Regions from separate parts of the Homo sapiens genome. Here regions 2, 3, 4, 5, 6 and 7 are each linked to region 1. The links are contacts of gene promoters, found by promoter capture Hi-C in blood cells and fetal thymus (Javierre and others, 2016). All regions are on one chromosome and are shown on one strand. Each heading gives the region's core, a stretch centred on a gene start or on the middle of the fragment in contact. The rest is flanking DNA. Distances are from core to core; before and after follow the strand shown. Region 1 holds the start of CENPE (centromere protein E). Region 2 overlaps SLC39A8 (solute carrier family 39 member 8). Region 3 has its middle 41 kb from the start of SLC39A8. Region 4 overlaps NFKB1-AS1 (NFKB1 antisense RNA 1). Region 5 has its middle 32 kb from the start of LINC02503. Region 6 has its middle 51 kb from the start of LINC02503. Region 7 overlaps NFKB1-AS1 (NFKB1 antisense RNA 1).

Region 1 (3,648 bases), core at 822-3,321:
ACAACAACACAGAAGTTAAATCAAATGAGTCCACTGTGTTTTCATTCCAAATTAGTAATTATTCCCAAAAGTAAAACTGTCAGAATGTAGGATGATCAACTATTTAAGACACAGTATTTTTTTCAACTTTTTGGTTCTCTGAAAATACCCTTCCCTAAGGTAAAATGAGTTCATTTTCACACACAAAAAATACACTACAAGTCAACTTTTCTATGTTCTTTCAAGAGGCAATAAGGTATAGTGTTTGCACATGGGGGTCTGGAATCTACCTAGATGCAAATTAGATAACTGTGATTATAACTGTTTTAAATGCCAATTGGTTACCTTACTTAAATACATGATGGATAAACAATTTTGTTTCCAGTGAAGCAGTTTATAGAAGGCTTAGTCTAATCTTTAGTGACAAATCTAATATTATTGATAAGCCTTTTGTACTTTTAATAGCAAAAGGATAACAAGGTAACTTTTGATGCTATTATAAGCTTACCAAAATTGAAGGATTTACTTCCATCAACTTGATAAATGACATTATTGTCAGTTTTCCAGTAAACTTGGGCAGTTTCTCCAAGTGATTCTTCTCTAAAAGAATAAAAACACCGCATTTTAACCAGTCATAAAAGTCATGTCATAGGAGGAATAATTGAAAAGATTTCACCTGCTAAAGAATATTTTGAAAGATAGTAACATAAGAGAATGACAGAAAGTCCATCTTTGAGGATTCAACTCTTAAATGGAGCTTCAGTGACCTTCTGCCGCCTCAAAAGTGTTTTCTTGTGAAGGCTTTCATTCTCACCCTCTCCCCCAGTACTGGTAAACAAAGGGATGGATTCAAAATGCAACTCTGATTATGTCTGTCTTGCTTAAAATTCTTAAAACCTTTTGGAAACTTATGAAATCCTCAGCAGGGCACGAGTCCTAGATCATGTCATTTCTCTCTTCCATTTTCCTCTGAATTCCTAGATACATCCTAAGCTCTACCTGAAGGTCTTCCCCAAATGACAGATGTAACCTCTCTGTGCCTGGAATACTCTGACTTCCCTTTCCATTAAGTAACATAGGGATTATTTCACTCATGAAAAGCGTCAAGACTTTTCTGACACCAGTTCACCCCACGGGAAGCTTTCGTCTCTGATGGGCTAATAACTCCTCTAGCAAACATTCTCTACCTGCCCATCATAACACTTGTCAAAAGGTATCCTAATGGTTTCTTTATGTAGCCGTTTAAGGCATTAGATAATGAGCTCCTCAAAAATAGGAAATTCCTGATCTTGGTATTTGCATTTATTAAACCCCGTGTTCAATAAAAATTTCTCACACACACAAAGTGTTAGCATTTCGGGTCGAGGGCCAGAAGCTAGTGAAGCAAACCGATTTCATTTATTCCTCTTCCTGCTTTTTCTCCCTAGCACTTATTACCTACATATCACCACTTAACATCCTACATTTTCAACTTTACTTTCTGTCTCGTCCCATTAGAATGGAAGAGCCACTGGGCAATGACGGGAGTGTCTGTGTTGTACAAAGTCACTAAAAAAAAATTGATAAATATTTGTAGAATGATCTTGAGTGACGATTGAATGTAATGTGACAAGACAGACTAGCCCTTGTCTTCAGAGGGTCTGGAGACAGCAGTTAGGTGTAAAATGACTAACTGTGATGAGGGCCAGGAAGGCACGGTCCCATACGACTTCTCTAGGCGGGGAATGGGGCAGGGAGGAGCAGATGCCGCAAGGCAGAGCAGCACAGAAGGGAAGGTCTGTATGTCAGCGAGACTGAGTTAAATTTAAGTGAATCTCGCAGCTGGAAAGTATCTTCTAGATCTCCGATCCTCCCCTGTCACTTTACAGACCCTGAAACGATGGCCAGCAGCCGAGTCACTAGACAGCAGAGCCGGGAAGCAGCGGCTCCTGGAAACATCGTAGGCCTCGCCCCTCCGGCTCAGGGCGGCGCCGCAGGCCCAGCGGGCACCGGGCCGTGGTGTGGCCCCCCTACCTGCTGTTCAGCGGCCGCACTCGCACGCAGACGGCCACGGCTCCTTCCTCCGCCATCCTATCAGGCTGAACTGGTCCCAGGAAAATGGCCAGGACCCTCCGCGGCCGGCACTTCAGGGCTCACAGGCCGCCCCGCCTTTAAATTTAAAATTTCCCAAACGCCGCATCTGATTGAGCCGTGGCCTCGTGACGTCATGGGCCATTCCACGTGCGGAGCAGCGCGGGGGACGCAAGGCGGGCGGCGTGACCACTGCTAAACAGGAGAGGGGATTTAAAGGGCCCAGCAGAGAGTCGGAGGAGAGGGCCGAAGGGAGGGGCTCCCAGGAGTGGGCAGAGAGTGGTGGTCCTGGAATACCAGAATACTATTATCTGCCAAAAGCTAGCGAACGTCATCCTCCACCCCATCCTTAAAAAGTTTGGAACCTGTAGACGAAACTAGGTAGAGATACATGTATTTTTCACTACCCAAACAGAATTGCCGTCTTTTAAAGAAACTGCACCAACAGTTTAAAATAAACTTTCAACAGCAAGAGTTGAAATTCGCTGTCCAGTCCAGAAACGTGACAAGCCTGTTGTGCGCCTTAGAAAATCTGAGTTTAGGCTTTTCTCCTGTTTCTCTCTCTCTGTAACTCGTTTCCATTAGCTGTGGCTTCCTCAGAGGTTGAATTAGGGAAAATAAATACCGAGGACTGAAAAACTCATTGAGTAATGGGTTGATACTTTTTTTTTCTTCTTTTTTTTGGAAACGGAGTCTCGCTCTGTCACCCCAGGCTGGAGTGCAGTGGTGCTTATCTCTGCTCATTGCAGCCTCCACCTCCTGCATTCAAGTGATTCTCCTGCCTCAGCCTCCCCAGTAGCTGGGATTACAAGGTGCCCGCCACCACGCCCAGGTAATTTTTGTATTTTTAGTAGAGACGGGGCTTCGCCATGTTGGCAAGGCTGGTCTCAAAGTCCTGACCTCAGGTGATCCACTTGCCTCGGTCTCCAAAAGTGCTGGGATTAAAGGCGTGAGCCACCGCTCCTGGCCTGGTTTGTTACTTTTATTAACTAAGAGGGAAAGCTATTCTAAATACAGTGATTTTTTCCCAAAAATAATGCTTATTTTCCCTTTCTTCTCTCTCTCTCTTTTTTTTTTTTTTTTTTTTTTAAATAAACATGAGTTCTTGCTTTGTCACCTAGGCTAGAGTGCAGTAGGCTGAACACAGCTCACTGCAGGCTCAACTCCTGGCCTCAGCCCAAGTGGGGTTCCCACCTTAACCTCCTGAGTAGCTTGGATTACAGGCACATCACAAGCCCAGATAATTTTTAAATTTTTTTGTAGAGACGGGGTGGTGGGGGGATTAGGGTAGGGAGTGGGGTCTCACAGTGTTGCCTAGGCAGGTCTTGAACTCCTAGGCTCAAGCAATCCTCCTTGCCTTGGCCTCCCAAAGTGCTGGGATTACAAGCATGAGCCATCGTGCCTGGCCTAGCTTTTTATGTGTACTTTAGAAAGCTATCCAAGATGTTTCATTTATTAAGAGAAATTCAAGGTGCACGGTTATGTACACAGAATATGTCTGGATATACATACATAATTTTTGGAAAGATACACAGAATATGCCTAATTTCCTTGCAGAGTGAGGACTGAGTTAGATGGTAGACTGAGTTAGATGAAAGT
Region 2 (3,648 bases), core at 493-2,992, 860 kb before region 1:
AAATTCTGAAAATTACCTAGTTTTTTAGATAGCCTAGAGTTTAGTAACATTCTTTTTTTAAAATAAATTGCATTGTAAATGACCCTAATACTAGCTGTTTGCACTTAGTAATGTGTACATCCCTTGAGGAAACACCACTTGGAATACAAGTAACTTGCAAACCCATTACCAGCCACATTAAATTGCCTTCATTAGATGTTGCTTTTCTTTTCCTGAGGATCACTGATCCTTCTCAACTTCAGGCCTTATTTTCCATTTCTATTTATATTCCTATTTTTCTCCCCCAATCCCTACTACCACCAAAAGGAATTCACTTTTCTCAAAAAAAAAAAAAAAGAATCAAAAGTATATTAAATTTAAAGAAAACACCTTTAAACAATTATTATGGTTGAAAAGTAATAGGTTTTTATGACTAGAAAGCAGAAAACTAAGTCCCTGCCCCTCAATATATCCCAAGATAAGAATAAATCATGGAAAGCATAACAGCTGCAAATCTCCCACCCAGATGAGAGAACAACCCTAGGGAACATCCCTAGAGAGAAAGATCTATCCCAATTATGGAAAGTTCACCTGATAACTGTGTGAGAAAGCTCAAACTGCCTCCTAGCAGCACTGTCTTACCTATAGTTAAGAGTCAGTGATTCTGTTGAAGTACTTGGCTCGGCTCACCTACTCTTCCCTCCTTGCTTCAACTCATTCCCCAACACCTATGCACAAACCACTTTCTCCAGTGTTGTGCAGTTAAGAATGCAATTGCTTCAGAGGCATCATAAGGGAAGATTTCCATTCTAAACCGCCAGAAGAGACAGTGGATTCATTGGCCGAAAACTTCTAGCATAAAAGTGAGAAATGAACTGAAAGGTTTCATACTAGACATGCCTGAAGTCTATCCATAGAAGAAAGTACTATTGTTGCTCAAAATATAGTCCCTTAAAAAAATTCATTATATATGAAACAATAAAAGAAAATTTCATCCTCTAAAAAAGAATTCATGTAATTCACATGAAAATTCATCACATTTGGTATAAGCAAGAGTTCAATCAATAAATTTTTTAAAAACCAAACCAGATAAGCCAAATTGACTGAGTTATAACTTTTCCATGAGGCATTTCCAACCCCAAAAAATCCCTCACCTTTCTAAACTAGTAGCAGATGTTTTCTAGTATCCATGTGACAATCATATATGGCCTTGTGATATGTTTTACAATGTCTGCTTTCGTGATTACTGCAGCTTTGCCTTCCATAGTCACTTTTCACAGTTTCCATCTTATTTCTTTTTTTTTTTTTTTTTCGAGACGGAGTCTTACTTTGTCACCCAGGCTGGAGTGCAGTGGCGCCATCTCGGCTCACTGCAAGCTCTGCCTCCCGGGTTCACGCCATTCTCCTGCCTCAGCCTCCTGAGTAGCTGGGACTACAGGCACCCACCACTACTCCCGGCTAATTTTTTGTATTTTTAGTAGAGATGGGGTTTCACCATGTTAACCAGGATGGTCTCGATCTCCTGACCTTGTGATCTGCCCCCCTCAGCCTCCCAAAGTGCTGGGATTACAGGCGTTAGCCACCGCGCCCAGCCTCCATCTTATTTCTTAATTATAAGGTCTCTGAGGACAAAGACAAGTCATCATCATCGTAGCCTCCACAGCTCTAGTACCATTTCCTTAATGTGACTAAGCAATGTAACCAGATAGGCAGTCGATGACTAGTAACTTCTCCCTGTAGTTCAAAATCTAAGGTCATGGTTGCTCTAGCTAGAGAAAGTATGGTTTTCTAGATTGTAATTCAAAAAATGCACTATAGCATAGTGTGTAAGACTGCCTGAGGTTCTACCACTTACTTCGTGACGTTGGTCCAGTTACTTAACCTCTCTGTGCCACATTTTTCTTACACATAAAATGAAGATAATAATGGGACCTTTATCATAGAGTTGGTATGAGTATGAAACATGATAATACAAATAAATTGGTTAAGGGAGTAATGCCACACAGTAAAAGATTAATAAATCCTAGCTATAATTATTACATTACATATAAAAGGGTTCATATGACTCCTAGAATAGTGGGTAAAGATGTGATTTTGGGAGTTAGATATGAAAGGAATGAAAAGCATTTTCCTAATGGATCCCAATCACACCTGGCATCAAGGCAAACTAAGCTCTTGACATCACAGTCAAATGAATTACGAATGTCCCTCATTTTCCCAAAGCCTTGAAATACAATCAACACACTGTACACAATCAACTTATGTGAGAGTGATCTAATAGATCAGAATGGGGCCATTGTCTTGGAGGATTCTTAACAAGAGACCTAGGTAACCTCACCCTCTGTCCTGCCCTTCCAGTTTCTCACCTGAACAAGCAGGTTAGAAGGCATTCCTAGAAGGTTTACCCCCACCATTTCTCAGCACATAAAGGGGAAAAAAAAAAAAGAACAAATGTTCTTTATCTCTTCTGTCCATAGTCAGTGCTTCCCAGAAACACCCTCATCTAACCCATCATTACCCCCACCCCAGGAAAAAGTGCAGTAGATGACAACAGGCAATGCAAAAAACATGTTTGCAGTATCCACACACATACATACACTCCTTTTTGCTACATACCACTAGCCTGGCCATCCATTAATATGAGCCCGGAGTTATTCTTTCTCCTTCTGGCATCACAGGGTCAGAAGATAATGAAGGAAGAGATCTAGCAATACTTAAATAAATAATGATTACAGGCAAAATATTGAAATAGAAAAGGCTTATCTTTGGGGCCTTTTGCATACTCTTCAGCCATGCCTGCTCTTCTTGAAGTCTCTGAAGGCAGAGCCTTTATATTACCTTCTGAGTTTCTCCAAATTCAAGTGGTCCTTACATCTCATGAAATCCACTGCAGATGGCTCCTTAGCTCCCACCTTGACCCACTCCAATACATTCCACACTCTCATGTCAGATTAATGTTCTGAAAACACAGGTCTTATCTCACATTGGTTTTTAAACACATTTATTCCTAGTGTTCCATTATTGAAACACTAAGCATGTGGGAGTTATTTATATCCCACTGCTCAAGGTCATTGCCAAGGTCTGATTGCAAAAATTCAAAAAATTGCAACCTCAGGCATAAATGGGTTAGTTCCTTAATCAGGCATATCACTGTTTCGTGCATTATAATTATATGTGCATATGTCATGTCTCCTCCAATAGACTGTAAAGTCATGTGAGGACTCAAATTATCAAACTCATCTTAAACCATCTTCACCCATCTATTCAAAAAAATTATAATGAATACATGTTATAAACCAGGCACTACACTAGTCTCTAGAGAGAGGAGTCAGACCATGCCCTTCAACTTGTTAAAAATCTTTTGGAGGGTAGAGAGAGGCAGCAGGGGTTATAGCCACATAAGCAGAAAACTGTAATACATATAAAATAATTTACATGTTATAATATAATTGCAATATATAATATGTTATAATTGCACAAGCACCAAGAAATACAGGATTGCATTGAAGGGACTTCGACTACACTCTTGAGAAGATCAAGAAAGGCTTCTCAGAAGAAGTAATGTCTAAACTGATACCAGAGCATAATCAGGTATTTCTAGAGAACCAGGCAGTGTAAATGGTCCATTAAGATTGGAACTGTGACAAAGGATACGGTTTAAGAAACATA
Region 3 (3,648 bases), core at 799-3,298, 810 kb before region 1:
GGGTACTTCAGTTGGAAATGCAGAAATCACCCCCCTTCTGTGTTGGTCTCACTAGGAGCTGCAGACTACAGCTGTTCCTATTTGGTCATCTTGCCACATCCCCGAGTATAATCTTAAAATAAGGAAAATTCCTTTAACTGTAATAATCTTGGACCTATTTACAAACTTACTCCATTTTGTGATTTTTCTCATTTTACCATGTTCTTATGAACATATCATCTGACACCTATATCACACTGGCTGGGAATCACAGGTCTATGACCCAGTGTTTTGCCTCATGACAGTTTGCATGGAGAGGGCTGTGCTGAAAAAGTCAGGACCCTTCAGCCTTGTTTTCCAAAGGATGGAGAGTCAGTTTCCCAAAGTCAGCCCTTCTGGGCCCTCAGAGCAGTTGGCTGGTTGCATGCTTCCTATTGTTGTTCTTCATCATTTATCATGGGTGTGGAGTCATGTGAAATGTGCAAATGCTAACTCAATGTAGACAGCGAATTAGTCTTCCACAGTGACCATTTGATATGCTTATTTCCTTGAAATTCTTATACCTGTTCCTATGACACAGAACTATGAGCATATGTTCACAGACCAGATTCTCCTAGTAATACCTTTAGAGTATGGTTCACTGAGAAATCAATGACATGATAATGGAGTTCTGTCAGAGGAGGCAGGTGATGTTACTCACCAGAAATCCCAAATAGGTACTCACTGCTCCTCAACAAGTAAAGGCTCAGAACTTCCAGATCCAGTACTGTGGTCCACTGCCTCTTCTACAGATGCTCTTCTCTGCCCCAGGCCCACAGTATCTCAAGGTTACTGTGGCTTAGATAGCATTTACCTTTATATCTGAAAGAGAGTAGAGAATGAGGGGACATTTGTGTTGAGGTCCAGGAATCAGACCCATCTGGGTGTTATGGGTTATTTTATGATTACTGGAAACAAAAAAGATTTCCTTGGCACACAATATTCAGGGGGAATTCCTGATTCCTCCATCCAGCTAAATTCTCTTTCCATCGAACTAAAGCAAGTGGGGACTCCTGGAATAATGCAAGGCTTTGATGGCAAAGTCCCTGAACACGGGGAGGGGAGTCACACACATCCCTCTCTTCCTCTCAATTTCAGGACAAGGAAGGATAAGTCCACATTCTTCCTATCAAACTCTCACTAGAGATTAGAAATAGAGACTTTGAACTGTGCCTTGGGCATCTCCTCAGGCACTGGAGCAGATGTAGCTCTGAGAAGAAAACAGCATGGCCGCATCCTTTTATCCAGCTCCTGCTCTATAAATTGGCAAAGGGAACTCATCTTTTATTCTAGTTCTATATAATTTACTCCAAATTAAGGAGGAATTCTTAATTATAAATGTTAAGCAGAAGTTGCAAATATGTAAGTTTAATGCCTCTGTTTAAGAGAGGCATTAATAAGAGAAGATTGATCTTTCTTCTAAGGGTACTGGTCTTTCAAGAGAAAAGTAATCTTACACAATTGATAGAAGAGGTTAGTGCTATGATAAAATTTAATACATCCATTGTGCACCATTGAAATTATTTGACTTCACTCACTGACTGCTGTTTCTGCTAAATTGATATCTTAGATCTAAGAGTGATTTGCCATATTCTAGATAGGACTAAGCGGCCTGGTGCAAAATAACCCTGAAGTGTTCACGACTGACCCCTCAGCCCAGACAAAATCATGGAGATGCAGACCACACACCAAATTGAAGCTGAAAACGTGAGATACCTGGGATTATCACAGCCATCCAGAGAGCATCCTTCTCCATACACATAAATTAAGGCATGTGCCCTATGCCCTTTCTCCAATATGATTTTCCTCTAATCCTTGGAACCACTAGAAGAACACTAACTGCCTGACTCTCCTATTCTCCTGACAATACCACAGATGAATTAGGAACCCATTTTCCTAATTCTCTGTGTGTTGGTTTGTTTGGACAGTTACTCTAGTGAAATCGAGTCTTCACAACAAAAGATAGAGGACCCAGACTAAGCAACTTGCCTAAACCTGAGGACTAGAGTCACTTTTATCATGGCTCATTGACATGATACATTGACATATAACGCTCTCCTGAGACAGTTACACTCCCACCTTCTCCCTCTATTCCTATTCCTGGTTATTCCAAACCTCTCCTTCTCCTGTTCTTCACCTTCCAGATGTACTGGTTAGCATCTTCTCCTCATGGCTGAGAAACAATGGCTTACTATCCTGTTTGCCAATCCTTGTTCCACCTTCCTTCAAGTCTTTCTTCCTCATTCAGAGAATGAATATTATTGCTTCTCAGTTTTTTGGCTAAGATTAAGTGAGAATGAATGAGTGAATATTAATTTTATCTTGTGATTAAGTGAGAATGAATGAGTGAATATTAATTTTGTCTTGTACTTATTGTAGTAACTTCTATATAAAATTTTAAAGAGGACAACATTTCTGTCTCAACACCGTCTTGCCTTTCGCAACCTTTCAGACAAACATCTCAGGCTTCCATATTTTCCCTATTGTCTGCTCTAACGTAACATGATTTCCAGGAAAGATAATAAATTGCTCACTGTAAGGTAAAAGGTTGCAAAGTTTATGCCTTTCCAAAGAGATTTGCTTTAACACAGGACCAAAATTTCAATTTCCAATTCTGGAAATGCAAAATCAGTAAGAAATCTTGGAGAAGGACAATTTTCTGGTATCCTTTAAATTATACCCCTACAAACATTGTGTTCAAATAACAACTCACTCATGGTTCATAAAATCATTTTCATGGATTAATATCAGTTTATTTTTTAATAGAATGGAAGGAAACAAATATCAATGTACATCAATTAGAGTAAGCGTAAACTTTTTTTTAGAATTTTCATTTCCGTTTTTTATAAATGTACAACATATATATGTATATGTAATTATAAGCAAAATATATAAATGCATTTCTTGTTATGATCATCATCAAAAAGTTTGAAAGTTACCTGCCCCTCACCCCTAGATCATGTTACCAAATGCTTTTGATTCCTCTTGTGCAACTTCACTAACATGCATCCCTGCTTTTCCATCCCCATCACTGTCCACATAGGTCAGATTATTCATTTCCGTTCTGAAGTTCTACAATAATCACAAAGCCTACATAACTGCTGTCTCTTACATTTTTCTGGGTGTTTACAGTCTCTAAGTCAAATTATTTCCTAATTCAAACTCTGAAATCTGTGCAAGACAAAAATCTGAATTCCTGTGCCTAGCCCTCAACCATCTGGCCCATTTTTACCTTGCCAAACCTTATCTCCTGCAGTTACCCAACTTGCCTCCAGGCATTCTTCTCTTTTCTGCACCAGATCTCTGCTCAAACCATCCTCCTCCCACTCTTTAGCTTGAAATGGCTCCCTTGCCTCATCTTCACGGCATCTTATCAGTCCCTGAATCCTTCAAGTCTCAGCCCCCTTCCCATGTCCTTCATCCCCCAGTGAATGCATTCACTGACCACCCCATACTTCTGAGAAAGCCTTAAATCTTATTATTTTTAACCTTTTCACTGGTGCACATTATTGGTGTACTCATATTTTCTGTTACTTTCTACATTCTTATCTTACCTTTCCAAGGAGATTTTAAGTTCCTTAAAAGAAAATATATCTTAAGTTTTTCTAGCTTGTTGCACTTAGAGCAAAG
Region 4 (3,648 bases), core at 645-3,144, 770 kb before region 1:
TTTTCACTTTTAAATAACTTTATTGAGATATATAATTTACATATAATAAAATCTGCCTATTGTAAGTGATTTTTAGTAAATTTATAGAACTGTGCAGTCAAACCCACAATACAATTTTAGGATATTTCCATCACCTGGCAAAATTCCCTTGTGGCTATTTGCAGTAAATTACTCCCACATATGCCCAGAGCTTCTGTCTCTATAAATTTGTCTTTTCTAGGTATTTCATTACAATGGAATTTTACAATATGTAGTCTTTTAATTCTGGCTTCTTTCAGGAATCATAATGTTTTTGAGGTCCTCCATGTTGCAGCATGTATCAGTAATCTGTTCTTTCTTTTCTTTTCTTTTCTTTTTTTTTTTTTCTTGAGACAGAGTCTCGCTCTGCTGCTCTGTCACCCAGGCTGGAGTGCAGTGGCGCGATCTTGGCTCAAGCAACTTCTGCCTCTCGGGTTCAAGCAATTCTCCTGCCTCAGCCTCCCAAGTAGCTGGGATTCAGGCGCCCACCACCACACCTGGCTAATTTTTTTTATTTTTCATAGAGATGGGGTTTCGCCATGTTGGCCTGCCTGGTCTCAAATTTCTGACCCCAGGTGATCTGCCCGCCTCAGCCTCCCAAAGTGCTGGGGTTACAGGCATGAGCTACCGTGCCCAGCAATCTGTTCCTTTTTATTGCTAGTTTTTAATTTTATAGATATATCACCTTGTTTAATCTTTTCACCGCTTGATGACATTTGGGTTGTTTCCACTTTTTTGGCTATTATTAATACTGCTGCTGTGAACATTTGTGTACATACACCTACTATGTACCCACAAAACTGGAATTTGAAATTTCAACAAAGAAGGTGTGAGGTTATTGATAGACAAGAGGGGCCATTTTATAAGTGATCGAGGCACAATTCATTATATACATGTTGAGCCACTGAGAGCTCCTCTAACACACCATGTTTTGGTACATAGCTAGTAAGTGAAAAATTAGGTAGCCCCTGAGTACTTATTTAAATTATCTGCCTCTTTTGGATAAATGCATGGAAAAATTCTAACAGTTACAGTTTGTTAAAACCTGTAAACAAATACCCAATTAGCAGCAATCTCATTGAGACTATCAGAAGCTGAAAGAAACCACACTCAACTTCATAACTCAAGTAGAATTCCCCTTGCGAAAAAAAAAAAAAATCCATGGTAGTACTGGACTCAATACACAATTTTGCTACCAGGTAACCAACAACAAAAAAAACAGTTTGCATAAGGTCAACTATCTCTAAACACAAATTCACAGTTTTGGCAAATATTCTCCAAGGTTTAATTGGTTTATATCAAACAACTCCAAACAGCATGTCAGTCATTTTTATTAGTAAGGGGCACATTTCACAAGTAATTTTCTCTAGAGGGTTCACTGAGAAGCTTTCAAACTCAGACATTTCTCAGATGGATTTCTGAGATTTTTCTCGGGGTAATTCTGCTTTGAAAATCTTCCAGGCTAAAATTGCCAAAGCCACGGTCTACAGTGTAGACCTTTGGAACTTTGTTGATTGATCTGCCCCTATCCTGGAGCAGACCCAGAATTGTATTCTGAGAAAAATCTATTAACTGTCTATAGTGCTCCTAGGCCTTCTCCATGCAGAGGTAGGCCAATGTCTATTCAAGACAAAGTCTAGCTTAGGCACCTTAATTTTCATAAGGGGACATTAACCTTTTTCTCTTTGCTCAATTGATCTCTAAAATACATACTTTTTGAAGTATATTAGCTTTATAATACATGTGCTTCAATCATAACACCAAATAATTGCTCTAAGGCATTTTTCAGATAATAAAATACCTGACAGTCACTACCCAGCTTTTATCAAAAGACGTAAGAAATAATATTCATAGAGAATCCATAATTAATTCATAATTCAAGGAGATAAAGTCTACCCAGCCCAACAAATAGTTTAGATTTTTATCCCTGGATCAATCCAGGCATGCGATGTGGCTGAAGTATAAGTTACGGGAAGGGAGAGGCTGGAGAAGGTTGTAAAGAGACAGCCAGGCTTGGGATTATATTTCAAAGGCCTTATAGCCCATTTATTCAGTCACCATGAAATGCTGTGTCATCAAAGGATTTCAGATAGGTAGGACGCTGTTACATAAGACCAGGTAAAAGGTGATTAGTATCTTAGCAGAAACAGTTATAATTTGAATTTAAATTCAATAGGACTGAAAATTGGTTGAATGTAGGAGACAAAGGAAAACAGTCAAGATGACTCCCGTAGCATGGGCCCTGAATGGAGAATACAGAAGAAACAGGTTGGGGCAAGAAGTTAATAAGCTCAGTGTTAAAAATGCTGAGTTTGATACCCCATAGAGTATCCCCAGAAATGACTTACTGAGTTATTCATGAATCTGAAGCTTGGAGGATATGGGCTGGTGATACAGGTTTGAGAATCATCAGCAAATAAAAGACAATTAAAACTATAACAGCTACCTACCTGCTATGTCTCCTAGGCCAAGTCACCTCTCTATGCCTCCATTTTCTGATTTGTAAAGTGAAGATTATCATACCTAATTGAGGGTTACTTAAGAAAATTACTATACTTTTGCTTAGTATGCTCTTGATATATGTCAGTTGTTTAAAAAACTAAATTAATTGCCAAGATTGCCTTGCAAGACCACATAGAACAATGGTTATTACACTTTTGGAGAGAAATTAATGCTTTTGAGAATAGCTGTAAACTATGGACTTTCTTATTAGAAAATTACACATAATCAAAGACCCAAATTTTTGCACAGAATTTCAGGAGGCCTGTGGATCACTAAAGAACCTGGGTTTAAAATTTTTTGATGTACAAGGGGAAGAGGGAAAATCTGAGAATCAAACAGGAAAAAAAAAATTATGAAATGAGCAGATTAGGAGAAGACCAAGAAGAGATTATCAGAAAGCGGCAAACATCAAACAGTTTCAAGAAGAGGCTGTGACCAATTTTCCCAAATTTGGCAAGTAGGGCCAATAAGATGAGTTAAAATGATCATTGGCAACATTCACGAATTGTATTAGTCTAGTGATGGGAGAGAAAATTAGAGATCAGTCAGTTAAGGAGTGAAAAGGGAGTGGAAAAGCAGTGGCAACTCATGGACAAAAAGGAAGAAAAAAGATGGAATGAAAGACAAAAGAGAATTTGTGGTCAAGAAAGGGCTGACTTTCTGTTTGCTGTGTTTGTTTTGTTTTGTGGTCATGAGAATTTATTTTTTGTTGTTTTGGGGTATTTCGTTTGTTCATTTTTTAAGGATGAGAAAGATTTGGGGTGTATGGACTCAGGATTGGAGCCAACAGAAGGGCTAAGGTGGAAGATAAGAACAGAGTGGGAATGACTGATGAAGCAACATTCCAGGAATGGAGATGGGGAGGAAAGAAATGGAATCAAGGGCTCCAGGAGAGGGCTTGGCTTTGTGCTAGAAGGACACATCATCCTCCAAATATGTGGAAAGGAGTTAAGAAAGTGTCTATATATTAGTAAGTGCTGGGCAGGGTGGACAATTGATGGATGACTGTAACTTTCTCAAGTAAGAAACAAGGTGGTTTTTGGGAGCCTGAGGCAGGAGAATCGCTTGAACCCGGAAGGCGGAGGTTGCAGTTAGCCAAGATCGCGTCACTGCACTGCAGCCTGGCGA
Region 5 (3,648 bases), core at 736-3,235, 730 kb after region 1:
GCAGTGAGCTGAGATTGTGCCACTGCACTCCAACCCTCCAGCCTGGGGAATAGAGCAAGACTCCATCTCAAAAAAAAGAAAAAAAGTCACCAACTAACAAGAACACAAGCAGCAGCAACCACAAACCCTGAAGAGGGAGAAGAATCTGATTTCCAAAGCTGCCAAATTATAATATTTAAAAGGTCCAGTTATGAAGACAAAATACGAGGTATAGAAATAAAAAAATTTATTGCCCACACATAGGATAAAAAGAGTTTAAATGAACTACATTAAATATGTTCAATAAGCTCAAGGAACATGTACAAAGAACTAAATAAAACCATTAGAATGATGTTTAACCAGGTAGAATGCTAATTTGGCTTGGTCCCCAGCCAAATCTCATTTTGAATTGTACTCCCCATAATCCTCATGTATTTTGGAGGGACCCAGTAGGAGGGAATTGAATCATGGGGGTGGTTTCCCCCTACTGTTCTCGCGGTAGTGAGTTCTCATGAGATCTGATGGTTTTATGTGTACCCCTGCAGGTACTTTTCTCTCCTGCCACCACGTGAAGAAGGATGTGTTTGTTTCTCCTTCTGCCATGACTGTAAGTTTCCTGAGGACCCTCCAGTCATGCAGTACTAGTCAAGTAAACCTCTTTCGTTTATAAATTACGCAGTCTCAGGCAGTTCTCTATAGCAGTGTGAGAATGGACTAATACATAGAGGATAATACAGATTTTGTAAGTAGAAATTATAGAAAGAAACCTAATAAATGTAGAACCAAATGGAAATTGTAATTAAACGTAAAATAACTAAAATGAAGAATTTAATCAAGGGATTCAACAACATATTTGAGGAAGTGAAAGTATGAATCAGTGAGTGTGGAATAAGTTAATTGTGACTATCTGACTGTGGAACAGAAACAAACAAAAATAGAAAAATAAACAGAAACTAAGAGATCCGTGGGACATCCCATCATGTGTACCAACATGCACATAATTGAAGTAGCACAGGAGGAGAGACAGAGAAAAAATAAAGCAGAAAGAATATTTGAAGAAATAATGCCTGAAAACTTTCCTTGTGAAGACATGAATCTGAGAAGCTAAATACATCTTTAGTAGAATAAACACAAAATGATCTACACCAAGACATATTATAGTCAAACTGTTGAAAGTCAAAAACAAAGAGGAAATCCAGGAAGAATAAAGAGAAGCAACTCCCCAAGTATAAGTAATCTGGGATAAAATTCACAGCTCGTATCTCATCAAAAGCAATGAACACCAGAAGGCTGTGGGATGATATACCTATGAGGTTGACTCTCAGAACAGACCAATAAGGAGTTGCAACATTGAATCAATAATAAAAAGCCTACCAACCAGAAATAGCCCAGGACCAGATGGATTCACAAATTCTACCAGATGTATAAGGAAGAGCTGATATCATTCCTACTGAAACTATTACAAAAAAATTGAGGAGGAGGGATTCATTCCTAATTCATTTTATGAGTCCAGGATCATCCAGAATCAAAAACCTGGCAGAGACACAACAAAATACAAAAACTTTAGGACAATATCCTTGATTAACATGCAAAAATTCTCAACAAAATACCAGCAAATTAAATCCAATAGCACATCAAAAAGCTAATCCACTACAACCAAGTATGTTGTATCCCTCGGATGCAAGGTTGGTTCAGCACACATGCAAATCAGTAAATGTTATTTACCACATAAACAGAACTAAAAACAAAAGCCACAAGATCATTTCAATAGATTCAGAAAAGGCTTTCAACAAAACTAAACATCGCTTCATATTAAAAACCCTCAACAATCTAGGTATTAAAGAAATATATCTCAAAATAGTAAGAGCCATCTATGAAAAACTCACACCCAACATCATACTGAATGGACAATAGAATAAATTTGGAAGGGCTCTCTCCTTCAACTTTTTGTTAAGAGTTTGAGAAGAATTGGTATTAATACTTTTATAAAAAAAAGTTTGCTAGAATATACCTATGAAGTCATCTGGATCTGAGCTTTTCATTGTTAGAATTGTTTTAACTGACGTAATCTTCGTACTAGTTATTAGTTGGTCTATCTAGATTTTCTATTTCTTTCTTTTTTTTTTTTGTTTGAGTTGGAGTCTTGCTCTGTCACCCAGTCTGGAGTGCAGTGGCGTGACTCGGCTCACCGCAACCTTCCCCTCCCTGCCTCAGCCTCCCAAGTAGCTGGGATTACAAGCACGCCACCACACCCGGCTAATTATTTAGGTATTTTTAGTAGAGATGGGGTTTCATTAGGTTGGCCATACTGGTCTCGAACTCCTGACCTCAGGTGATCCGCCCGCCTCAGCCTCCCAAAATGCTGGGATTACAGGCGTGAGCCACCGCACCCAGACATTGGGTTTTCTATTTCACCATGATTCAGTCTTTTCAGTTTTATATGTTTCTAGGAATTTATCCATTTTTTCTAGGTTATCCAATTTCTTAGTGTATAATTGCTCATAGTAGTCTCTTGTAATGCTTTGTATTTTGAAATATCATAATGTCACTTTTATCACTTCTTATTTGAGTCTTCTTACCTTTTCATTAGTTTAGCTAAAGATTCTTTATTTTTGTTTATCTTTTTAAGAAACCACTTTTAGTTTGGTTGATCTTTTCCATCATTATTCTGTCTTTATTTAATTTATTTCTACTCTTATCTCTGTTATTTTTCTCCTTCTGCTAACCTTGGACTTACTTTATTCTTCTTTAACTAGTCCCTTGAGGTATAAAGTTAGAATGTTTATTTGAGATTTGCCTTTTTTTCTTCTTGTAGGCATTTATACCATAAACTTCCCTCTTAGAAATGCTTCCCATAAGCAGTATCCCGTAAGTTTTGGTATGATGTTTTCATTTTCATTTATCTCAAGATACATTTCAATTGCTCCTTTGATATCTACTCGAGACCTATTGATCACTCTCCAGTATTGGGTGGGATGTGGTGGCTCTTATTCTGGGGGAGGCCTCAGCAGTGTAGTGTCCATGCAGCTCTATTAACTGAGGTCAGCATCAATAAAGATTCCACGGGTCCTCAAGAGCCACGGCCATGATTGTCCATAGCAGTGATGAAGGTTTTTGAGCTTTTTAGTGGTCAAGGCTGCTCTGGACATCCTGATACCTTTTTTTTTTTTTCCTCACAGAAGACAATGCGGCACCTGTTCTGGCTCATGGGCGTCCTCATTGTGGTGGTGGCACTGTTGTCTAATATACAAAATGCTACTGGAGTTCTTTACATAGCAGGTCTCTGGGGCCTGCGATGGCACTCACCACATGACTAATACAGATAGGATCTTCCCTTCTTTGCTCCCAGCCATCTCCAGACTTCCCTGCTAAGCCAGTCTCCCTAGTGATCCCTTCTATGCAGCTATTCTGTCTCTCATTTTCTTCCCCACTATGTTGTTGTAGGTCCTGATTGAACTTTGAGCTTAGTTAATAGTTTTCTTCCAGTATTTTTATATTTTACTAATTTTTATCTAATTATTATATCAATTATTGAGAAAGAGATGTTGAAAACTCTGAATATTATTTTTGCATTAATTGATTTCTCCTGTCATTGCTTCATATCAGTCTTTGCTTCATGCACTTTGAAACTCTGTTACTAGTACATCAAAGTATAATATTGTTATGCTT
Region 6 (3,648 bases), core at 678-3,177, 710 kb after region 1:
CTCTCTTAAATTTCTATATTTTAGATTTCTATATCAGTACTATTCTCTTTAAATTACTACCACTTTATAGTATTTTAATATGTATTTAGTCAAGATCCTCTCCTAATTTTTATCTGTTAAATTTTACTTGGCTTTAATTCTTCTTCATAAATTTTAGAAGTTTTAGAGTTTCCTAAATATAGAGTTAAATTTAAAGTAGGACTTTTAGATTTAGAGAGACTTACTATCTTTGCAATATCGAGTGTTCCATATATAAATATATCAGCATTATCTAGCTTTATTTTAGTTTTTACATGGTTGTTGTTCCATCACTTTGAGTAATAAGTAATAAATGCTATCAGCAATTTTGTTCATGTCTTTGGGGAAATGTATTTATGAATATGAATTTTTCATGTGTATAAGTAGACATGGACTTGTGAATTCCTTGTTACATACAAAACTTTAGCAGATACTACCAAACTGTTTTCCAAGGAGGTTAAATAAATGTACACCACATCAGTATATTTTAAGTTTCAACTGTGTCACATTTCACTGAAACTTGTATTGTCTGCCTTTTTCACTGTAGCTGTTCTGGTGGGTGTGTAGTTGCTTGTATTTTCATTTGTATTTCTATGTTGATTTATAATGTTGAGCAACTTTTCACATGCCTACTTACCATTTGAATATCATTTTGTGTGAAATGTCTGGTAAAGATTTTTATCAATTGAGGGTAAGGAGGTTACATCTTTTCTTTACCAACTTTTATGCATTTGGGGAAAAAATGTCAGATGTATATATCCTATTCTTTGGAAATTTTTCACCCCATTTTTACTGTCACTTCTATAAATAAAATTTATTACTATATCTAGTTTTCATTTTACTTTTACTAAAAGAGATTTTGGTGTAATGTTTAAGAATGTTTTACCTACCTCAAGATAATTATTACCCTCTTGTTTCTTCTAGAAGCATTAATTAATTTACCTGTCACATATGTATAATCCATTAGAAGTTTATTATTTTCCATATAAATAACCAATTTACCTGGCACCATTTATTGAATAGATGCTAGGTTTGTACAGTCCTAAATCAGATGCAGGTATATGTGAGTGTGTTTCTTTCTTTACTTTCTATTACGTTTCATTGGTATGATTGATAGCCTTGTGCCTTGTTTTCTCTTGATAAGTTATATATTGATAATTTTTACAATCTAAACACTCATGTTCCCTAGAAACTTTAGTGATAGTGTACTGAATTTATCAATGGCTATGGTCTAAGTGTGTCCCCCAAAATTCATGTGATGGAAACTCCATTCCCAATGCAATAGTCTTGGAAGTCAGGGTCTTTGAAAGTTATTTAGATCATAAGGTCCTGGCCCCCATGGGTGGGTTAATGCCATGATAAAAGGGCTTGATTGAGAAAGTTGGCTCCTTTTGAACCCCTTCTGTCTCCTCTGCCATGTGAGGACACAGCATTCTTTCCCTCTAGAGGATGCAGCTATAATAAGGTGTCATCTTGGAAGCAATTAATAGCCCTCTCCAGTCAACCAACCTGCTGGCGCCTTGGTCTTGGACTTTCTACCCTTCAGAACAGTGAGAACATAAATCTCTGTTGTTTATAAATCACCCAGTTTCCAGTATTTTGTTATAGGAGTACAAATGGACTGTGACATCACTCAGTTTGAGAAAATAAACATTTTTATGATATTGAGACTTTCTGTCCACAAAAGGGCATCACTTTAAATTTACTTATCTAATTGTACTAAATATTATTTTATAGATTTTAGTGTAAATGTTTTGAAGATGTCTTGTTAGATTTATAATTTTTTTTTTTTTTTTTTGAGACGGAGTTTCACTCTGTTGCCCAGGCAAGAGTGCAGTGGTTGGGCTGCTATTGCAGCTCACTGCAGCCTCCGCCTCCCGGGCTCAAGTGATTCTCCTGCCCCAGCCTCCCGAGTAGCTGGGATTACAGGTGCCTACCACCACACCTGGCCAGTTTTTGTATTTTTAGTAGAGATGGGGTTTCAGCATGTTGGCCAGGCCACTCTTGAACTCTTGATCTCGGGTGATCCACCCACCTTGGCCTCCCAAAGTGCTGGTATTAGAGGTGTGAGCCACCACCATGCCCGGCCCAATATTTTTTATGTGTGAGATAAATACTACCTTTTTTCTCTGTTTAGAGTTTTTCATTTGTTGCTTCCATATAGAACCATAATTTATTTTTGCATTCAGGTGGATGATTAAATCTGTATCATCTATATCTGTATCATCTATACTTATATCTATACTATTCTCTTTTTCAAATACCATTCTATTCATTATCTGTATCTGTCTCCTCATTCATTCATTCAATTTTTTATTTTGGCTTTTTGCACTAAAACCTCTACTAAAGTGCTGAATAGAAATTATTTCAGGCATCATCTTCCTATTATCTCTGGAGGACACATTTCAATAATTCATCATTAATGATCAATAATGAAAAATAATGATGAATAATTGAACAATCACAGTGTTCAATTACTTCATCATTAATGATGAAGTTCATTAAAGATATGGCAAATGCTTTTTTCACATGAGAAATCATTTATCATTCAGTATGTTATAGTTATTTGAAATGTCTTATCTTGTTAATAGCAGTTAGTGTATTTTCTTATCTTAGACATTGAAGGTTTTGAACATATAGAATACAGTTATTTAATATTGCCTGCTAATTTTGAATCCATGTAAGCCTAGTTAGTTCAAAATAGTTGATTTTTTCAACTCATTTTTGGGTTGTGTCTCTGATTCTTCGTATACCTGGTAACTTTTCTTTCTTTCTTTTTTTTTTTGAGATGGTTTTGCTCTTGCCCAGGCGGGAGTGCAATGGCGCGATCTTGGCTCACCACAACCTCCACCTCCCGGGTTCAAGCGATTCTCCCGCCTCAGCCTTCTGAGTAGCTGGGATTACAGGCATGAGCCACCACGCCCTGCTAATTTTGTATTTTTAGTAGAGACAAGGTTTCACCATGTTGGTCAGGCTGGTCTCGAACTCCAACTTCAGGTGATCCGCCCACCCCAGCCTCCCAAAGTGCTGGGATTACAAGCGTGAGTCACCACGCCTAGCCTACCTTATAATTTTTTACTGGATGTCAGACATTGTTAATTTTACCTTATTTAATGGAAAATATGTGTGTGTGTGTGTGTGTGTGTGTGTGTGTGTGTGTATTTTTCAGCCTTGTTCTGAGATGCAGTTATTTGGAAACACTTTATTCCTTCAAGACTTGCTTTAAAGATTTGTTAGATAAGACAATCACAGTGTTCAATGTGTTTGATCCAGGAATATTTTCATTCTCCACAATTTAGGCAGGATCCTTCTTAGCACTTTACAGAGTCCCTCTTGAATTATGAGATTTTCACTCTGGCTGGTGGGAACAGTCACTATTTCCCAGCTTTAGGTGAGTGCTGGGCACAGTTTCCTCTAAGTATTTTGTGTAGTTTCTGCCCCAGCTTTGGTTAGTTTCCTCACACACACAGTGAGTGGTACCCTGAAGAATATTCCTGGGGAATCTGTGGAAAGTCTTTGAAGTTCCTTCTGTATGGATCTCTCTCCTCCCTGATACTCCATCTCCTTAGCTTTCCAGGACCCTTAGCTCCATCCTAAACTCAGAGAACCCCCTATGCCCCTCCTGAAATC
Region 7 (3,648 bases), core at 486-2,985, 700 kb before region 1:
CTTCTATTTACTAATTATGAAACCTTAGGAAAATTATTCAACTTTTCATCTGTAAATATGGGGATTATAATGGTGATCCACTTTATATGACTGACAACCAAATAAGTGAATACGTGTATAGCAGGTATTAACCATATGCTTAGCCGACCTATTTCAACCTCCTAACCAACCAGAAGAACTGTAGTTCCCTGCTCTCTTGCATCTAAGTGGGGCCATGGAATGTGGGCAGAAGTGTTGTGTCACCTTTACTCAGAGGCAATTAAAAAGAAGACATACTTTTCCTATGTTCTCATTGCCAATGAACACACTACACAGATCTCAACCTCAGAATTCTCTCCACACTGGTATTTCCAAAATAGCTTCATGAGAAGGGAAATTTGTGTAGTTTCAATGATTTAGTGATGCTATGGTTTGGGTATTTGTCTCCTCTAAACCTCATGTTGAAATGTGACCCCAATTTTGGAGGTGGGGCCTAATGGGAGATGTTTCGGTCATGGAGGTGGATCCCTCACAAATAGATTGATGCTATTCCCTGCAAGGAGGAGAGGATGAGTGAGTTCTCACTGCATTAGTTCCTATGAGAGCTGGTTGCTAAAAAGTTTGGCATCTCTCCCCTCTCTCTCGCCATACGATCTCTCTGCACACACCACCCGCCTTTGCCTTCCATTGAGTGGAAGCAGCCTGAGGCCCTCACCAGACGCATATGCTGGTGCCATGCTTCTTGTACAGTCTGAAGACTGTGAGCCTAATAAACCTCTTTTCATTATAAGCTACCTAGTCTTGTGTATTCTGCCATAGCAACACAAATGAACTAAGACAAGTGACAAACACAAAATAACTTGTCTTTTAGACAATATTGATGTCTGAAATTCCACATTGAGGCATTTTTTTCCTCTTCGTAGCCTGATAATGGCAAATACCTTCTGACACCTTAGGATGGATGAATTTGTAAGAGATATTCCTGGAAGCAGGTTTGTACAGTGTAGAGAAAATGTTGGGTAACAAAGCAGGAATGGAGGAGGGTTAATCAGCAAGCCAAAAAGCTTTTATAGTTTTGCCTGCTGTGCTGCATGGAATTACATCCCCCCAAAACATATGTTCAAGTCCTAACCACAGGTACCTGTGAACATGAGTTTATTTGGAACTAGGATCTTTGCAAATGTTATCAAGTTAAGATGAGGTAATACTGGATTGGGGTGGGCTCTAAATCCAATGACTGGTGTCTTCATAAAAGAAAGGTGAGGGAGAGTTGAATATAGCGACACAAAGGAAACACGGGGAAGGAGACCATGTGACAATGTAGGCACAGAATGGAGTGTTGCAGCCAAGCCAAGAATGGCAAGGATTGCTGGAGCTACCAGAAGCTAGGAGGAGGCAAAGGATTCTTCCCTAGAGCCTTCAGAGGGATCATGGCCTTAATGGCACCTTGAGTTCAGAATTTTAGGCTCCAGGACTGTGACAGAATAAATTCCCGTTGTAAGCTGTTCAGTCGGTGGTAAATTTTTACAGCAGCCCCAGGAAAATATGCCTGCTCAACACCCTACCCTGAATTTTAAGTTCATTTTATGGAATCATTTTGAGTTTGGAGTTTGATTTAATCCTTTTCAGTAATTAACGCTCTTCATTTTTTACTCCCAAATATGTCACACTGGCTCTACTCTTATAACAATTGTATTTATCTATCTTTTGGTAATGGGGCTGCCACCCCTTGCAGAATGAAAAGTAGAGTGTGTATGCTCACACCTCCCTCCCTCCCTCCCTCTCTCCCTCCCTCTCTCTTTCTTTCTTTCTCAGAGTATCGCTCTGTCTCGCCCAGGCTGGAGTGCAGTGGCGCAATCTTGGCTCACTGCAACCTCTGCCTCCAGGGTTCAAGCGATTCTCCTGCCTCAGCCTCTGGAGTAGCTGGGATTACAGGCGCCCGCCACCACGCCCGGCTAATTTTTTTGTATTGTTAGTAGAGATGGGGTTTCACCATATTGGTCAGGCTGGTCTCAAACTCCTGACCTCAGGGGATCCACCCGCCTTGGCCTCCCAAAGTGCTGGGATTACAGGTGTGAGCCACCGCACCCGGCTCACAGAATTTCTTAAAAAGTCATTGTGTTCAGTCTTTATGGATCCTCTAAATTCCAGCTGCTCAGCCTCCCGGAGCTAAATGAGATCACTTAAAGGTCGACTGTTGGGGCCTCCAAGGTCGCCTCGGAGACTCACCTCATAGGCAATCAAATGGATCGCTGGGTTTTTGTGTGTGTGGGTTTTTTTTGTTTATTTTTTTTTTCCAGAAAAACACTCCACCAAGAAGGTTTTTATAACCTACTGGAGGAGGAGGATGGAGAGTGGGCACGAAAGGACTAGGATGAACATGCCATAAGCAATCTAAATGCCACTGCAATATTGCCTGGTGAGGACCTGATTACTGATGTTTTAAAGCTAAGCTTTCAGTTGTCACTCCACCCAGTAGTGAAACAATGAGCTCTAAAATATATATTTCGGCTCAAGCTTTCTTATGTGGGGAGGTAATCCACCCGAAGGTATCCCCAGCCTGTACCTAATACAGTGCCCAGCACTAAAGCAGCTCAGATGCCAGTGAATGGTGGCCACTGGGAGGCCTGTCAGTGGGTGCCAGTAGCGGTCTCTTCAGAGAAAAAGAAAACTCCCCTCTGCCAGATCAGTATTTTATGAGCTGTGAACCAAAACCATTGCTACCACCATCACTATAATTCTATCCACAGTAATTATCATAAAGGCCTAACAATGCCTTGTAGATGAACATTCTGAGTAACTGCTCTATAACCAGGAGATTTAAGACCGCACCAAAAACCAGTAGAGGGTTATACTTTACTGGGCACAAGTCGTTTATGATAACGAAATTGTAGTTTAATCTGTGAAGAGATGTGAATGTAACTGAGACACGCTTAAATGGAATATACAGATGAGCTTTATTTTTATATCTGGCATGCTTGGATCCATGCCGACCCTCCAGCTGCTCGGGCCTGCCCTTAGGGGCTATGGACCGCATGACTCTATCAGCGGCACTGCCACCGCCGCCGCCTCCGTGCTGCCTGCGTTCCCCGACCATTGATTGGGCCCGGCAGGCGCTTCCTGGGGGCTTCCCTACCGGCTCCAGCCCTTGGGATTCGGGAGCGCCCTGCTAGGAAGCCAGAGCCCCGCAGGGGCCGCGGCGTCCAGGCCGCCTAACGCGCGCCCCTCGCCCGGCGCCCCGAAGCGGCCCCGAGGGGCGGGAGCCGAGGCGAGCGGCAAGGCCGGGCCGGGGGCGCACAGCGCCCCTAGAAGTGCGGGCTTCCCCCACCCCCGGCAGCGACCCTACCTCCCGCCCCCGCTGCGTGCGCGCGTGTGTCCGTCTGTCTGTATGCTCTCTCGACGTCAGTGGGAATTTCCAGCCAGGAAGTGAGAGAGTGAGCGAGACAGAAAGAGAGAGAAGTGCACCAGCGAGCCGGGGCAGGAAGAGGAGGTTTCGCCACCGGAGCGGCCCGGCGACGCGCTGACAGCTTCCCCTGCCCTTCCCGTCGGTCGGGCCGCCAGCCGCCGCAGCCCTCGGCCTGCACGCAGCCACCGGCCCCGCTCCCGGAGCCCAGCGCCGCCGAGGCCGCAGCCGCCCGGCCAGTAAGGCGGCGCCGCCGCCCGGCCACC

The links. The method cuts DNA at HindIII sites, captures the fragments that hold promoters and counts their contacts. A CHiCAGO score of 5 or more calls a contact.
Region 2: a contact is called between a fragment that was not itself captured here and the fragment with the promoter of CENPE in region 1, in 2 of 17 cell types (non-activated CD4 T cells and naive CD8 T cells). The highest score is 8.0, in non-activated CD4 T cells.
Region 3: a contact is called between a fragment that was not itself captured here and the fragment with the promoter of CENPE in region 1, in 1 of 17 cell types (neutrophils). The highest score is 5.5, in neutrophils.
Region 4: a fragment that was not itself captured here is called in contact with the fragment with the promoter of CENPE in region 1 in 2 of 17 cell types (naive CD4 T cells and total B cells); the score reaches 5.3 in naive CD4 T cells.
Region 5: a contact is called between a fragment that was not itself captured here and the fragment with the promoter of CENPE in region 1, in 2 of 17 cell types (megakaryocytes and erythroblasts). The highest score is 13.2, in megakaryocytes.
Region 6: a fragment that was not itself captured here is called in contact with the fragment with the promoter of CENPE in region 1 in 1 of 17 cell types (endothelial precursors); the score reaches 7.9 in endothelial precursors.
Region 7: a contact is called between a fragment that was not itself captured here and the fragment with the promoter of CENPE in region 1, in 3 of 17 cell types (fetal thymus, total B cells and monocytes). The highest score is 9.1, in fetal thymus.

The regions. Positions count from the first base shown.
Region 1 is chr4:103,196,272-103,199,919 of GRCh38, forward strand. CENPE (centromere protein E) reads right to left here and starts at 2,072. Exons shown (of 49, transcript NM_001813.3): 1 at 1,993-2,072; 2 at 488-579. The coding sequence starts at 2,048. RefSeq lists an enhancer at 1,934-2,488. The HindIII fragment of the contact is 3,749 bases long and covers 1,118-3,648 here.
Region 2 is chr4:102,336,913-102,340,560 of GRCh38, forward strand. The region is part of intron 2 of SLC39A8 (solute carrier family 39 member 8); the gene reads right to left. Among named protein-coding and RNA genes, the nearest start is that of SLC39A8, 6.7 kb to the right of the region's middle. The HindIII fragment of the contact is 4,591 bases long and covers 1-3,648 here.
Region 3 is chr4:102,384,671-102,388,318 of GRCh38, forward strand. No RefSeq gene overlaps it. Among named protein-coding and RNA genes, the nearest start is that of SLC39A8, 41 kb to the left of the region's middle. The HindIII fragment of the contact is 4,429 bases long and covers 1-3,648 here.
Region 4 is chr4:102,426,265-102,429,912 of GRCh38, forward strand. All of the region lies in intron 2 of NFKB1-AS1 (NFKB1 antisense RNA 1), which reads right to left. Among named protein-coding and RNA genes, the nearest start is that of NFKB1, 73 kb to the right of the region's middle. The HindIII fragment of the contact is 984 bases long and covers 1,403-2,386 here.
Region 5 is chr4:103,927,685-103,931,332 of GRCh38, forward strand. No RefSeq gene overlaps it. Among named protein-coding and RNA genes, the nearest start is that of LINC02503, 32 kb to the right of the region's middle. The HindIII fragment of the contact is 4,781 bases long and covers 1-3,648 here.
Region 6 is chr4:103,908,861-103,912,508 of GRCh38, forward strand. No RefSeq gene overlaps it. Among named protein-coding and RNA genes, the nearest start is that of LINC02503, 51 kb to the right of the region's middle. The HindIII fragment of the contact is 5,904 bases long and covers 1-3,648 here.
Region 7 is chr4:102,497,924-102,501,571 of GRCh38, forward strand. All of the region lies in intron 1 of NFKB1-AS1 (NFKB1 antisense RNA 1), which reads right to left. It overlaps NFKB1 (nuclear factor kappa B subunit 1), which reads left to right and starts at 3,436. Exons shown (of 24, transcript NM_003998.4): 1 at 3,436-3,648. RefSeq lists silencers at 3,116-3,375, 3,386-3,648. The HindIII fragment of the contact is 1,389 bases long and covers 1,042-2,430 here.